2 separate regions of the Homo sapiens genome follow, and region 1 is linked to region 2. Evidence: promoter capture Hi-C in 16 types of primary human blood cells and fetal thymus (Javierre and others, 2016). All regions are on one chromosome and are shown on one strand. Each heading gives the region's core, a stretch centred on a gene start or on the middle of the fragment in contact. The rest is flanking DNA. Distances are from core to core; before and after follow the strand shown.

Evidence for each region. The method cuts DNA at HindIII sites, captures the fragments that hold promoters and counts their contacts. A CHiCAGO score of 5 or more calls a contact.
Region 1: a fragment that was not itself captured here is called in contact with the fragment with the promoter of RFX7 in region 2 in 1 of 17 cell types (total B cells); the score reaches 5.4 in total B cells.

Annotation. Positions count from the first base shown.
Region 1 is chr15:57,706,388-57,712,829 of GRCh38, reverse strand. GCOM1 (GCOM1, MYZAP-POLR2M combined locus) reads right to left here. Exons shown (of 17, transcript NR_104371.3): 15 at 3,472-4,116; 16 at 642-846. POLR2M (RNA polymerase II subunit M) reads right to left here and starts at 6,116. Exons shown (of 4, transcript NM_015532.5): 1 at 5,875-6,116; 2 at 3,472-4,116; 3 at 642-846. The coding sequence starts at 5,987. RefSeq lists a silencer at 5,632-5,681 and an enhancer at 6,002-6,221. The HindIII fragment of the contact is 4,237 bases long and covers 1,270-5,506 here.
Region 2 is chr15:56,242,096-56,248,447 of GRCh38, reverse strand. RFX7 (regulatory factor X7) reads left to right here and starts at 4,569. Exons shown (of 10, transcript NM_022841.7): 1 at 4,569-5,003; 2 at 5,161-5,323. The coding sequence starts at 5,163. LOC124903569 (laforin-like) reads left to right here and starts at 3,630. Exons shown (of 3, transcript XM_047433428.1): 1 at 3,630-3,714; 2 at 4,269-4,465; 3 at 4,566-5,097. The coding sequence starts at 3,630. The coding sequence ends at 5,015. It also overlaps a transcript of TEX9 not described here. RefSeq lists enhancers at 2,660-3,305, 3,544-3,593, 3,306-3,951, 3,952-4,597 and silencers at 3,844-3,893, 4,384-4,673, 4,824-4,883, 4,974-5,043. The HindIII fragment of the contact is 5,292 bases long and covers 2,865-6,352 here.

The sequences.
Region 1 (6,442 bases), core at 2,139-4,638, 1.5 Mb before region 2:
CTCCCATCCCATTATTCTGTATACAAACTCTCAACATACATGTTTGAAGTTCAATGCAAAACACATGGAAACAAAGTGCTATGCAAAATTGATTAAGCTGCCAAAAGCAGGAGATATTTCTCTCTTCACATGGGCCTGCAGATTATGCTCTAAAGCAGTGTCTCACTGTCTGCTGGCTACACAACATTATCCTCCCACTCCTTCTATGCCCTCCCCTGTACTGCAGAAGATGGAAGCCTGGGAACTACATTCTCCTCATTCTCTAACAAGGGGTCTGGGTTTGAGTCCGCCACTGAGAAGCTGTCACATGAGTTTTACAAGGTGAAAGGGAGAGATGCGATGCTACTACTATCCTAACAGGAACAGGCAGGTAAATGAGCTTTAAGACATGAAATTCTACAAGTCTCCCCACATCTCCAGGCAAATCACCACTTTAATGTTGAAGGTAGCTGTGATCATCTCTAGCTACTTCCTGCAGTTCTAGCAACTTTGTGACTCTCTGAAAACTAGTGGCATAGATCTGAGCTCATGGAAGCACCTAATCCCCTCTATTCCATTCCTTCCTCCTTGAACCTGGAGTAAATTCTAGCTTATGTAAGCAGCACCCAACAAACAGACAAGAAAAAAAATACTCTAAATACCTCATAATTCTGTTTCTGCTGTTTCTGAAGTGCCAAGGATTCTTCTATGGAGAGCAGCTGCGTGGGCATATGGTGAAGTGGTAGAAGCCGAGCTGCTGTGATGTCATCAAGATGCTGCTTATCCCTGCGCCGCCGCTCTTCTGAGGAAATAGGAGACCCACTCTTCTGGCAATGACTAGATGAATCATTTTGTCGAAAAGGTAACCTGATGAAAGGAAAACTTGTGTTATACAATCAGATTATTTTATTTGTAGACACATTTAAAACATTCACACAAATGGCCTTTACCTTAGCAATTAATTCTCCTCCAAAGGTAACAGTAAGTAATTTACCAGTATTCATTGCTCTAACAAATAGGGGTGTGTTTGTGTGCATACAGGCTCTTTGCCTTTTCCTTCCTTATTCAAACCTTGTATTTCATCTGGAGTTTTTTTTTTTTTTTTCATTTATTCAAAGAACATTTGCAAAAGGGCTTATTGCCCAGTAGAAAGAAATACACATGTAAAGTTTCAGTGCAATACAATACCAGAGATACTGTGATAGATATCTCAACAAGATACATTGGAACATAAGGAAATGGCCAGTTCTAGTGGGAGACAGGGAGGCTAAGAAAAGTTTCAAAAAAGCTTTGAACAGTCTTGGAATAATAACTGCTTACCCATGTAAATAAGGAGAGAAGTGCATCCCAGCAAGGGGAGTGAGAGAAAGTACAGAAGGTAGACAGACTCAGCTTTTCTGGCTACACAGAAAAGACAGCGAGAAAGAGGGCTGGGAAGTAGCCTAGGCCCAGACTGCAATGAAGAGTTCTCCGTAACAAGTTCGGATTTCCATCTTACAAATTTCACTCTGGCAGCAGTGGAGATAGACTGGTAGTTAAGACTAGAGGTAGAAGGGGCCACAATTACAGCCCGAGAGAGATGAGAGTCTTCACTTCGACAGAAGATGAAGAACAATTATAGAGATGAAGATCAAAGAAATAAGTAGGTCTTCATGGCTAGCAGATATGGAGATGAGAAAAATCGAAGATACCTTAGGGGAAGAAAACCGAGAAGGTGGTGGCACTATTAGGGAATATGGAAATCACCTTGGAAAGAAACTGCAGTTCCACTTTGTACATCATTAAGCTGAGGTACCTGGGAACACCCAAGTGATCAAGTTTCATGGTTAATTGGCTATGCAAACCTAAAGTTCTGGGAAGATCTGGGATAGAGGTGCACAGGGGTCAGCCTCCAGCATCCAGGTGATACATGAAGCCAGAAGAGTATGCAGAAGGAAGAGCAGAAAGGACCCAAAGGACACTACCTGACCCCACCTTCCAACCTCCAAGCCACCTCTCACACGGAACCCTCTCAATCCCTACCTGTCTATGGCCTAAGGACTCCTCAAAGCCCTGCCTTTCCTGTTCTCCTCTAACTTATACAGGAGGCTCCCTGTCTCTTAAACTTCCTGAATTCTTGGTAGCCCTCTTCACTATTCCCTTACCTCTCTCCCACTCCCAGCTAAATGACCATAATACAGAACTGGGATTAATGTATTCTTTGTTTTATTTATTGACTAGATGATGGTTCTAGTTTTCTAAAATGTCATCCTGGAAGTGAAGAAAGATACCCCACTGTACACAAGAGAGTACTTGATCACGTTAATGTAGTATAATCCTGATTTTCTATACAGCAGAAATAAAATGTTTTGAGGTTAAAATGAATGCTGGGGTAGAATTAAAGTCTAACAAAAAAGAAGCATGTTTTAGATACTTTTCACTAGAGGTTTTCTGTTTTTCAAAGAAAGGTAGTAGTGATTTAACTTTGATGTTACATACTTGTAAATACAATATAGGAAGAAGGTACCAGTTACCTGAGTTGAATGTTACATTTGCTGCAAGTAAATAGCAATTATTTTCAAAAAGATTTTACTTTTCCTGAAATTTCAGAAACAAATTTATGGCAAGGAACTGATAAGCAGAGTTTTTGCCTATCCTGCCTGAATCTATTTTCACAGTTTTTCAAACCTCTTCTCAGCTTCCTTCCCCCTGAAACTGTTATTATTATGTAGCTTAACTCTTTTCCAAGTGTGTAAACCTTGGGTCCTCATGTAGCTCTTAAACTCCTTGAAGAACATGGTATTGTATTACATTACACATGTATACATTACAGCCATGTTTTTAAACTTGAGATTTAACATCAAAAAAGGCAAAGGAGTTTTAAGAATCTTGACTTAATTGTGTCCCCACAACACCTGCTGCTTGCTTACATACAGTGAGCATGCAAATAATTTCTGCTGGAAAGCCCATCAGCTCCTGCAATTGCTTTACCCTTAGTTCACAGACTAATCAAAGAGAGTACACTTTGATAGTACACTAATCAAAGCTGTACACTAAAAAATGGTTCTGAAAAAAAGAAGTCATAATAAATTCTCTCCAACTCTGTGTTTATTATGAAATACTGGCTAAGCATCCTAAAATTTAACACTCCCCCATGTGCTTTAAAAGACCTTGTCGATTATTTGGTTTCAAAACTAAATATTTTTCAACATGAATCTTCTACTCCGGCCAGGCTGGTCTCAGTGTTGCCACAACATGTTATTTCCTAACTACAAGTAGTTCTCATACAAAGCCCACGGAACTTAGAGCATTCTCCTGACTTATTTAAGAGAAAAGGTCTTATTATATTGCCCAAGCTGGTCTACAACTCCTGGACTCAAAGCTGTCTTCCCACCTCAGCCTCCTGAGTAGCCTGGGACTACAGGCAAGCACCACCACACCCAGTTTCTCGTAAATTTTTGAGTTTAACAAATATCACGTTCCTGTTACAGGCCTGTTTCCGAGGGTACTTACACATTGGTTTTAAATTTACGCAGCTGGGGCACTGGGTTTTTGGCTCGCATTTCTAGCACTTCCATGTAATGAGGTTTCTTCTCAGTCCCACTGGAAAGGCCTGTCAAGTTCTTAGTACTTGCGTTTTCTTCTGACTGTTGTTCACCTTGGTCCGCAATGGTGATCCTCTGTAACCTGTCAATAAACAGGTTGTCAAAGCTGCTGGAAGTATCTTCCGCTTGACTTGAAACACGATGCCGCGGGTGATGCTCACTAGCTTCAGATGAAGGTGGTACCCTGTCTCTATTGCTGGAAGCTGGGCCCTTATTCACTGTGTACTCAACCTCTGAAGTCTCTTCATCACCTTCAAGAGTAGGACGTCCAAGTCCCTGGTTTTGTGAGGTTTGAGATGACTTGATGTTATCTACAGAGGAACATCCAGGAACTAGTGATGAAGTATCAAGTATCGGGTCAGAATTCTGGGCCTTATCTGTACCCACATCAACTTCTGCAATTGCTTTTTGCCTTAGCTTACAGTCTAAACTAACAGGGTTAAACAGTTCACTTTTTCTTCTAACTTCTTCACATTCTGCAATGGCAGCTTTCAGTTTGGCAAAAGAGTCAAAGATCTTTTTACCTTTGTCGGGCAATTTGCAAATGAATTTTCTGTCAAATGGAAAAGAATACTATTACATTACAGCCATTTTTTTAACTTGAGATATAACATTAAAAAGGCAAGGCATTATCTTCAAAGAAAGAAAAGCTGATTTTTAAGTCAAATATCTGATTTCTAACTGCCCCAAAACAAGAATAAAACAATTAAAATGGTCATTATCCAAATAGCCCAAAAAACAAGGGAATGCAGGAAGAATAGGGAATATATGCCTCATTTGTCTCAGCAAATTAGAATTTCAGCAAAAGTATTTTAAGCATATAATAATCACATAAGACATTCCAAGAACCAGCAGTCATTAAAGTGCAATCTCCAAAATTTGGGGATGGGGTGGAGTGTGGGGATGGGCCTATTAGGTCAAAACTACTTTCATAATAATACTAAGATATTATTTCCCTCTCATTTTCTCGCATGGGTACAGTGGAGTTTTCCAGAGGCTACATGGCATGTGATGACATCATTGTTCTAGAATAGAATGTGTGCTTGTGTATGCTTATGTTTTAAAGACTTCAGACGTATTTCTGATAAGTAAATACATTTCGCTAGATACAACACATAAAATAGCTCTTTGGGATGTCAATAATTCTTAAAGTATAACGGAGTCCTGAGACCAAAAAGTTAATTCACTGCTATACATTCAAAACCTATTCTCACAAGGTCAAAACACATGTCTTGATCCCAACCAATTATTTATTTGTCCCTTTTGCTGGATGACAGAGTTCCTTTTCTGATTCCCTTTTCTTTAACTATACAATAAATGGAAAGAAAAAATTACACCTTAAGTCCTCTGTTCTTTTTGACACTACATTCATCCCCACAATTTCAACTATTAACAACACTCTACAGCTGAAATTCCTGTTTTCTGTATTTTTCCAGGGTTCTCTCTTTCTTGAGCCTCATGACTACTTCTCCAGCTTTTAAGTGTTTGGTTTTCGATTAACCAAATGTCTGTCCTGCTCTCCTCTCAACTCTGCACACCCTAAGTAAAATCAACCTTGGATCTATTCCTCTCCCTGAATTTTCCTATTTTTGCTAGTGGTCTTCCATATAGATTGGAAACTTCAGCCATCTCTGTCAACTGCATTTAAATTAGTCCATGCTTAAAAGTTCTCCCAATCCCTTCCTAGCTCACTTTCTTACAAGTGTCTCGTGGGAAGTCTCTCTGAAAATATCCTTCTACTGTCTTCTGCTTTTTATTCCTTCAAACCATCTTTTGCAACAAGCTGCTGAACAAAGCTGCCTAAAAAACAAAATCACTTTTATTACGTGGCTCCCTTGCTAAAATCCGTTCAACCAGCCAGCTGAATGAGGGTCGAACTTTCCCGGCCTAATAAACCCCTCTTCATATCCCACTCTTCCCATTTCCTACGGTTCCTGTAAGCTTAGAATCCAGAGATGAAGCTGACAATCTGTTATGGGTTAGGGGTGCGGGCGACAAAAGGGTTTAGAAAGCAGACTCATGGAACCACCACAGTCCCCGGGTAAATAAAACCGACCAGGGGCTACTAACTCCCTGCAACGCCAGGTAGCCGTTCAATCCGAGCTATCCTCGCAGGCATACGTGCCTGGCCAGGAAGAGGCACGGCTCTGCCGCAGCAAGCCCTCCGTCCACTCGCCCGTAGGACTGAAGCGAATGTGACTGAGTCAAAGTCACCTTCCAGGGAAGGGAACAGAGTGCGGGAGGGGAGGGGAGCGCCCAGGGAGCTCGAGCTGAAGGAGCCTGGCGGAGACTCCGCGGGACCCCAGCTTACTCGTTGCGCAAAAGTCTCTCCTGGCGCTTCAACATTTCCCGCAGCTCCACCAAACTCCGCTGCGCCAAGTCCTCGGGAGCTTGGGGCTCGAAGCCGCGGGGCAGCGAGCACATTCTGCGCGGGCTGAGGCTGGCGCGGCGGCGGGCACTCGGCTTCCTCGGCAGGCCCCGCTACTAGCGCCGGATCCGCGGACGGCGGTGACTCCGGGGCACGAGCGGGAGTCGCCATTTTCCCGGAAGAACGGGGTCTTCTTCGAGCCGAATCGAGCTTTATTGAAATTCCGGAAACAAACACGGACTGGGAGAAGGGGGCGTCCGCAGGAGCGTTAAAGGGCGGAAGTTACGTCGGATGACGCCGGCTCCTTGGCTTGGCGCCCTTTCCCCTTGTGTGAGCATTCATGCGGTCATCAGCTGTTCGTCGGTTTATACAAAAAGTATTCAGCGCCAGCGTGACCTCACCAAGCACTATGTGTCAGTCAACAAATAGCAACGTCCTGTGTTATACTTGGGGTTTACAGAGTTGGCGGGGGGATGGGGGGAGGGAGAATCAAATTATGATATAATAGTAA
Region 2 (6,352 bases), core at 3,320-5,819:
GATAGGGTCACATAGCCAGGTAGTGACAGTGTTAACAGTCTGCTGCCTTGACAGTATTTGAATAGTTAGGCTACTTAGCCTTAACACTGGGCTATACATTGTTTTAATGACATAATGACATATTTGTGCTCTAACAGAAGAATTCACATTTTCACAGCATACTTACATTAGCACTCTTGGTATTGAGAACATGTATCAAAATTTGCCAATATTAACTTAGTTCTGAACCCCCCAACTTCCCTCTTCTGTAATCTTGCTGCTGCTTTTATTTTTCTCCTCTTCACTCCCTCCCACATCCTCTTCTCTCTAATGCTATTAAAGACTGAAAGAAAGCTCAATCACATTACAGCATTGAAACTTATATATATATAAGCCCTCCTAGGACTACTTGCACTTTGAAAGACAACAGCTTAGCTGAAAGAAATTATCCATCACTTTCTGCTATCAAGGAAGAATTGGGAGAGGTGAAAAGCCTTCTTTCCTTGTTCTCTTAAATAACATGTAGGTCATTAAACTCTACTTTCAGCTTCTAGAGGAGAAAGCTTGCAATGGAAAAAGACAGAGGAAGTAATGATCAGGGGAAAAGAGGATGAGAGGAGTATTTTATTTTTATATTCAAGTTGGGAAAGAAGGAGAACAGGGTAGAACTTTACCTTTTCCATATCTGGTAAACCACCATACTTTGTGGAAGTGAAATGTATACTTTCAGCACTTAATCAGTATGTACCAATAATGAAACCGACTTTCAGGCCTTCCTTTGATAGAACGATCCTAACTATAATGCAAAGTAACATTTTGTAAAGTGGGTTTTTGTCTCTCTCTCCTTCTTTTCCCTCGCCTATACTACTTTAGGATCTGATCACAGAGTCAACACCGTGCTATGCATTATTCCTTCAGCAAACAGTACCCTTTCATGGCTTCACACCAGTGCTCATGTTACTCCCTTTATCTGAAATCATCTTCCCTCTGTTGCTCTGCCTACTCAACTCCTATTCATCCAACAAGACCCAATTAAAATGCCAGCCATGATGCCTTCTCCAGTTCTTCTACCCTGAGCAAGACCAATCCCTCCCTCCATTATGACTCCACAACACTAGTGGATATGTTTATAACTCATCATCTTATATATGTTAATATGTTGCTCTACTTCACAAAAATGTAAACTACTTCAAGTTGGGGCCAGGTCTTATTTATTCATATTTTCCGTGCCCAATACTGCTATATATCAGGCATGATAAATGTATATACTACAGTCTGGACAGTATAAAATGTTTACAGTTTCATAAAGGAGACAAGGTTTACAGACACAAGAGAGCAAGACAATATAATGGATTGGGCTAGGAAAATGAGGGTTAGTTAACTACTAAATTCCACAAATATTTATTAAATAGTCAGGAGTCAGGAATTATGTCCTGGGACTACTAGGATAAATAAAATAGTCATTTCCTTTGAGGTGCTGACAATCCATCTTGTAGATACTCTCTAAATGTGGACAACACTTCCCTGGTTTACCTATAACTTTTCATGTTTTCCTTATAGCAACCCTCTGATGTACATCATTATTTTCATTTTTATAGAGATCGAAACAGAGGGTTTGAATTCCCAGGTCTTCTGACTCCAAGGCCAGGTTTTTCTAACCCACTACATCAGTGTTCCTCAAAATTTTCCTCTGGTGTACACTTTCCCAGTAGAGAATAAACTTAGGCTCCTCAGGGTTGGGTAATACTTGTGTGTTATCTTAAAAAGTCATGCTTACTACAATGTCTTACCTTATTTACCAGAGAGTCAAAATGATGCTCAGAGAAAATGAGCCACATTGATTCTGGGTCCTTGAGGGTCCTCAGTACAGGGTTGCACAATCAAAGGAACCCACATAATATGAGAAGCACATGGCTACACTCCTGCCTTTATTCAGGGTCCCTGGGTTTGGCTTGAGTCCACACTCAAAATTTTGGGTAACTTCATCAGATTTCTTAATGTCATGATTTTATTCACAGTCTTCTCTGAAGACTGGAACAAAACACCCACTGTACTCCCAGATGTTAAGTGAGTAGTGAGGGCTGCCCCTTTCCTCCCTGAAAGGGTATCTCACTCTGGCAATAAGGTCTCCTCAGTCTGATACTCTCTGCCACCCCTCCCATTGCTGGTCTCCTTCAACTCCCTGTAGGTCCTGGAAGGCCGGAAAAGGTTTACCACCACACTCCGGTCAGCACCGCCGCTAGAGGGCAGCCCGCGGCTGCAGCTTCGTGAGCCCTCTAGTGGCTGCTGGGGTGACCTGGCTCTTTTATGGAACCCATTAAAAACTCTCAGAAGTTGCACTTGGGAAGCCAGCCTGTGTGACACCCGGTAGCGAACTTTTTATAAAACGTCTTGGTTCTCGGCTTCCTTTTCTTAAGGCCTTTGGCAGACCTTAGATACGTTACCCCCTCGATGACTCTCCCACTTCCTAAGGATCTCCCCCTCCCAGGGTGTTGCAACTTGGAGCCATCATTCTCTCTTGGCAAGGCAAAAAATTAGAACCTTGGGGAACTTGGCAACTTTCCTCAACGTGATATAGGGCATACACACACACACGTATATATATACCTACATTCAAGATTTTTCAGCGTAATTCCAGTTTCAGCATAGCTTGCAGGCTCTGGAATTAAACTTCCAGGACTCAAATTTTGGCTCCTGCATTTACTAATTGGGTAATTTTAAGAATGTTAATTAACCTAAGCTTCCATTTCATCTGTAACAGAGGGAGACTAATAATACCTACATTATACACTCTTGGGGAGGAATAACTATGATAATGTATGGAAAGTGCTAGTCTGGCACACAAAGTGTTCAACAAACATTAGCTATTTTTATCCTTCAAAGCTTCTGTCTAGTGCACACCATGTCTATCAATTAGGTCCACAAAAATACTGTCTTTACACACCCACATGAAGATATGTATGCAAAATGAATGTCGTAAACCACCTATAGTTTCCTAAAGTGGCTAAGCTAATAGAGACCTTAGAGTATGGAAAAGGGGGCTCATTTGTGTGATGCAACTCGTGCAATGGGTAGTTGGAGCACAGCGTAATCCAAGAGGCCCCGGGGGCGGGGGGGCGGCTTATTTTGCACACAGGTGTTCTTCCTCCCTGCACCCCCACCCTCAACCCTCACCACGTGCAAGCATTCAGTGTGAGTCTGGGCCTTAAGTCTGTGGGCCAGGAGAGAGGGCACAGTGGACAAAAGCAAGAGGGTTTCAGGCCAAGGCAGGGAACTGAGAACTCAAAGGCCAGGCAACCCAAGCCAATCAGATTCACCATCCACTAGGAGTCTAAAAGGTGGCAGAGCCCCACAGCCCAAAGTCCACACACAGCAGGAAAGTGGCCAGAGGATCTAACAGGTAGAAACCTGATAGACACTCTATCAGAAAAGTTAAAGCTGAAGGGCTCATAACACCCACGGGCCCAAAGAAAGGTCAGTGTGAGCTGAACAGCTGTTCCATTTGGTGCCAGAGGCCTTGGCTGTTGTATTCTACATCCACGCAGCCTCCCTGATCAGCCCCACCTAGAAAAGCCAATTCTTCTGCTCTTAAAGGAGACTGACTTATTTGTGGCAAAGCTATCATTTAGGTATGAATGGGAAGGGGGGGAATGGTGCGGAGTCTGCGGGGGGAGGGCGGGTGTTCAACGGGCTCCAAAGGAAGGAGCTCGTGGCTGACGCCTGAGCCTCCATGTTGTGAGTACTACATGCGTTTCTTTCAGAGGCAGGCAGTGGCCTTGGCTGCAGGGACCCTGACAAGCCGCGACTTGAGCTATGCTTTAGAGCCTGGGTGGAATTGGGAGCGGTATAAAGGAGGGAGGGCATTCCTGGAAAGGGGGTGGGGTGGGGTGGGGAGGTGGAGGGGAACAGCATGAGCAAAGGCACGAAGGAAGAATGAATCTGCTGCGCGTTGAGGATGGCATGGAGACTTCCCTGATTGGAGCCGGGAGTTCTTGCAGGGGGATGGAGGCCGCTATGATTGGATAGTTAAAGTGGGGCCAGATTTGGAGGGCTTTGAATGCCCGACCGAGGAGCACTCAACCCAGCTCCTGACTCGCGATTTCCGTTCAAGACCGAATTACCTAAAGGGTGGTTAATTCCAACGGGTGTTCTTCTTTGGGGGCTTCTGAAAAGTCAGTTTATCGTCTTACCTGCTTCAGTTCTCTTCATTTACTCAGGGAGGAAGTAATCCTCACATGCATGTGCAGGGGAAGGGGGATAATGTTGATTTCTCTTTACTTGCTTTGAAGATGCCTCCCCCGCCCAAATCCCATTTCCACGCCAAATATTATTAAATTTGGTTTCTCCTCCTCCTCCTCACGCAAGTTCTCTTTCTCTCGCCAGCACCTCCCCCACGTTTTCCTGCTCTCCACCAGCCGGGCCGGACTCCTCCCGGCCCCCAGCGGCGCGCTTCCCTGGCCCGCTGGCCCGCGCCGCCCTCCGCGCCGTGCGCCCCCATCCCGGCCCGTCGCGCCCGCGGCCCGCACACCCTGGTCCACGCCCCCCGGCGGAGCGGTAGGTGTTGTGCGGTCTGCGCCGGGCCGCAGTGCGGCTGCGCGCACTGGGCTGCCTCCGGGGCTGGCAGGGCAGCGGCGGCCGCGGCGGCGGCGGGGCCGGGAGCGAGCGGCGGCGGCGGCGGCGGCGTGGGGAGTGGCGTGGAGCGGTGCCTGGGGCTGCAGCAGCACGGGGACCCGGCAGTAGAAAGCCCCGGGGACAAGGAAGGAAGGCTTGGCCGCCAAATCCCTGAGCAACCGTTCTTCTTGGATTTTGGGGGGAGCCTGCCCCCCCCACTTCGTCTTCAAACGCCCCCATCTCACCCCCCCACAGCCCCGGCCGCTGACGGGAGGAGGCGGCGGCGCCAGCGGGGGGCTGAGGGGCGCCGCCATGCCTCTCCCGCGGTGAAGCGCCCCGGCCGTGAGGAGCCGCTGGTCTCCCCGGTGATGTTCCCCAGGCGGCAGGCGAAAGCGACTCACTCGAGCCCTGGGGTAAAGGCCTAGCTTATCCAGCTTCCTTCCTCCTCCTCCTCCTCTTCCCCTCCCCCTCCCCCTCCTCCTCTCCCCCCTTCGTCCTCCCCTCCCGGTCTCTTCCCTCACCCTTCCCCGCGCCCCCATCTTTCCCTCCCTCCCTCCCACCCCTCTGCAGCGATGGCAGAGGAACAACAACAGCCGCCACCACAGCAGCCTGATGCCCATCAGCAGCTTCCCCCCAGCGCCCCCAACTCGGGGGTGGCCCTGCCAGCCCTTGTGCCCGGGCTGCCAGGGACAGAGGCCAGCGCGCTGCAACACAAGATCAAGAACTCCATCTGGTAAGAGGATCCTCCATCGCTCGCGTGAAAAAGCCCAGGCACATTTCTGCTGCAAAGTGGGTGGGGGGCGGCGGGCGGGGGGAGCGGAGGAGGAGGCTGATGCATTCATTGAATGTGGCTTTCCCCAGTCGGGTGCACATTTGTAGGATCTCTGGAGGTGTGCGGACTTTGCATCAATCAGCCCCTGTCTTCTTAGCTAAAAAATGCTTTTACCCCTTCCTCAATTGTGAGTGCAGATAAACAAGTTTTTTGGTTTTATTTTTTCACTCATTGTAACAGAAATATGGGTCGAAATTAAGTCATATTGCATGATGGTGGCATGAATTTGGAACTGGAGAATGTGAAATGTGTTTACTCCTTTTTGCAGCCATAGAAGGAGGAAGAAGTGTATTGTGAATTTTCACCAAACAGATACTGTGCGTAAGAATATTAATATGCAGCACAAAACCTAATGTGTCTCTTCCTTTCAGTTGGGTTAGCTGCTATTTCTGAATGTTTTTGCCTCCCTTATCCTAATATTAAATTTCTTTTTCAGGGAGTTTATTCTTTGCATTGATTGTGAAGAAAGTGCTTTTTTAGTATAAAATATTTTAAGATGGTAGTTTACAACAAAGTGGTTTTTTTTTAAATTAAAATATAGGGAATCAAATGTCTTGCCATTTGTATGTCTTTTTAAAAGAAACCATTGATGGAATATCTTTCGCTATTTTACTTTCTTGTATGAAAATTTCCAATATTTCAGCATTAAACTCCTAAAGTCTAGTGGGAATCTTTTAATAATTAAATACACTAAGTCCATCCACTGTTAGAGCCATTGCAATATTCTTTGAACATGAACTTGCATTGTTTTGTAGGATGCTTCATTAACTGCCTTTTTTAAGTGTAGCAATATTTTTTAAATGGAAAGTAATATTTGGAATTTGGTCTAAGATTGCTTTTAATAGAAGTTTAAAAAGAATTTTATATGGTATTTTAAAAAGCCTTGATTTTGAAAATGGAAATGAAATCTTTGCAGGGCCATCATTGAAT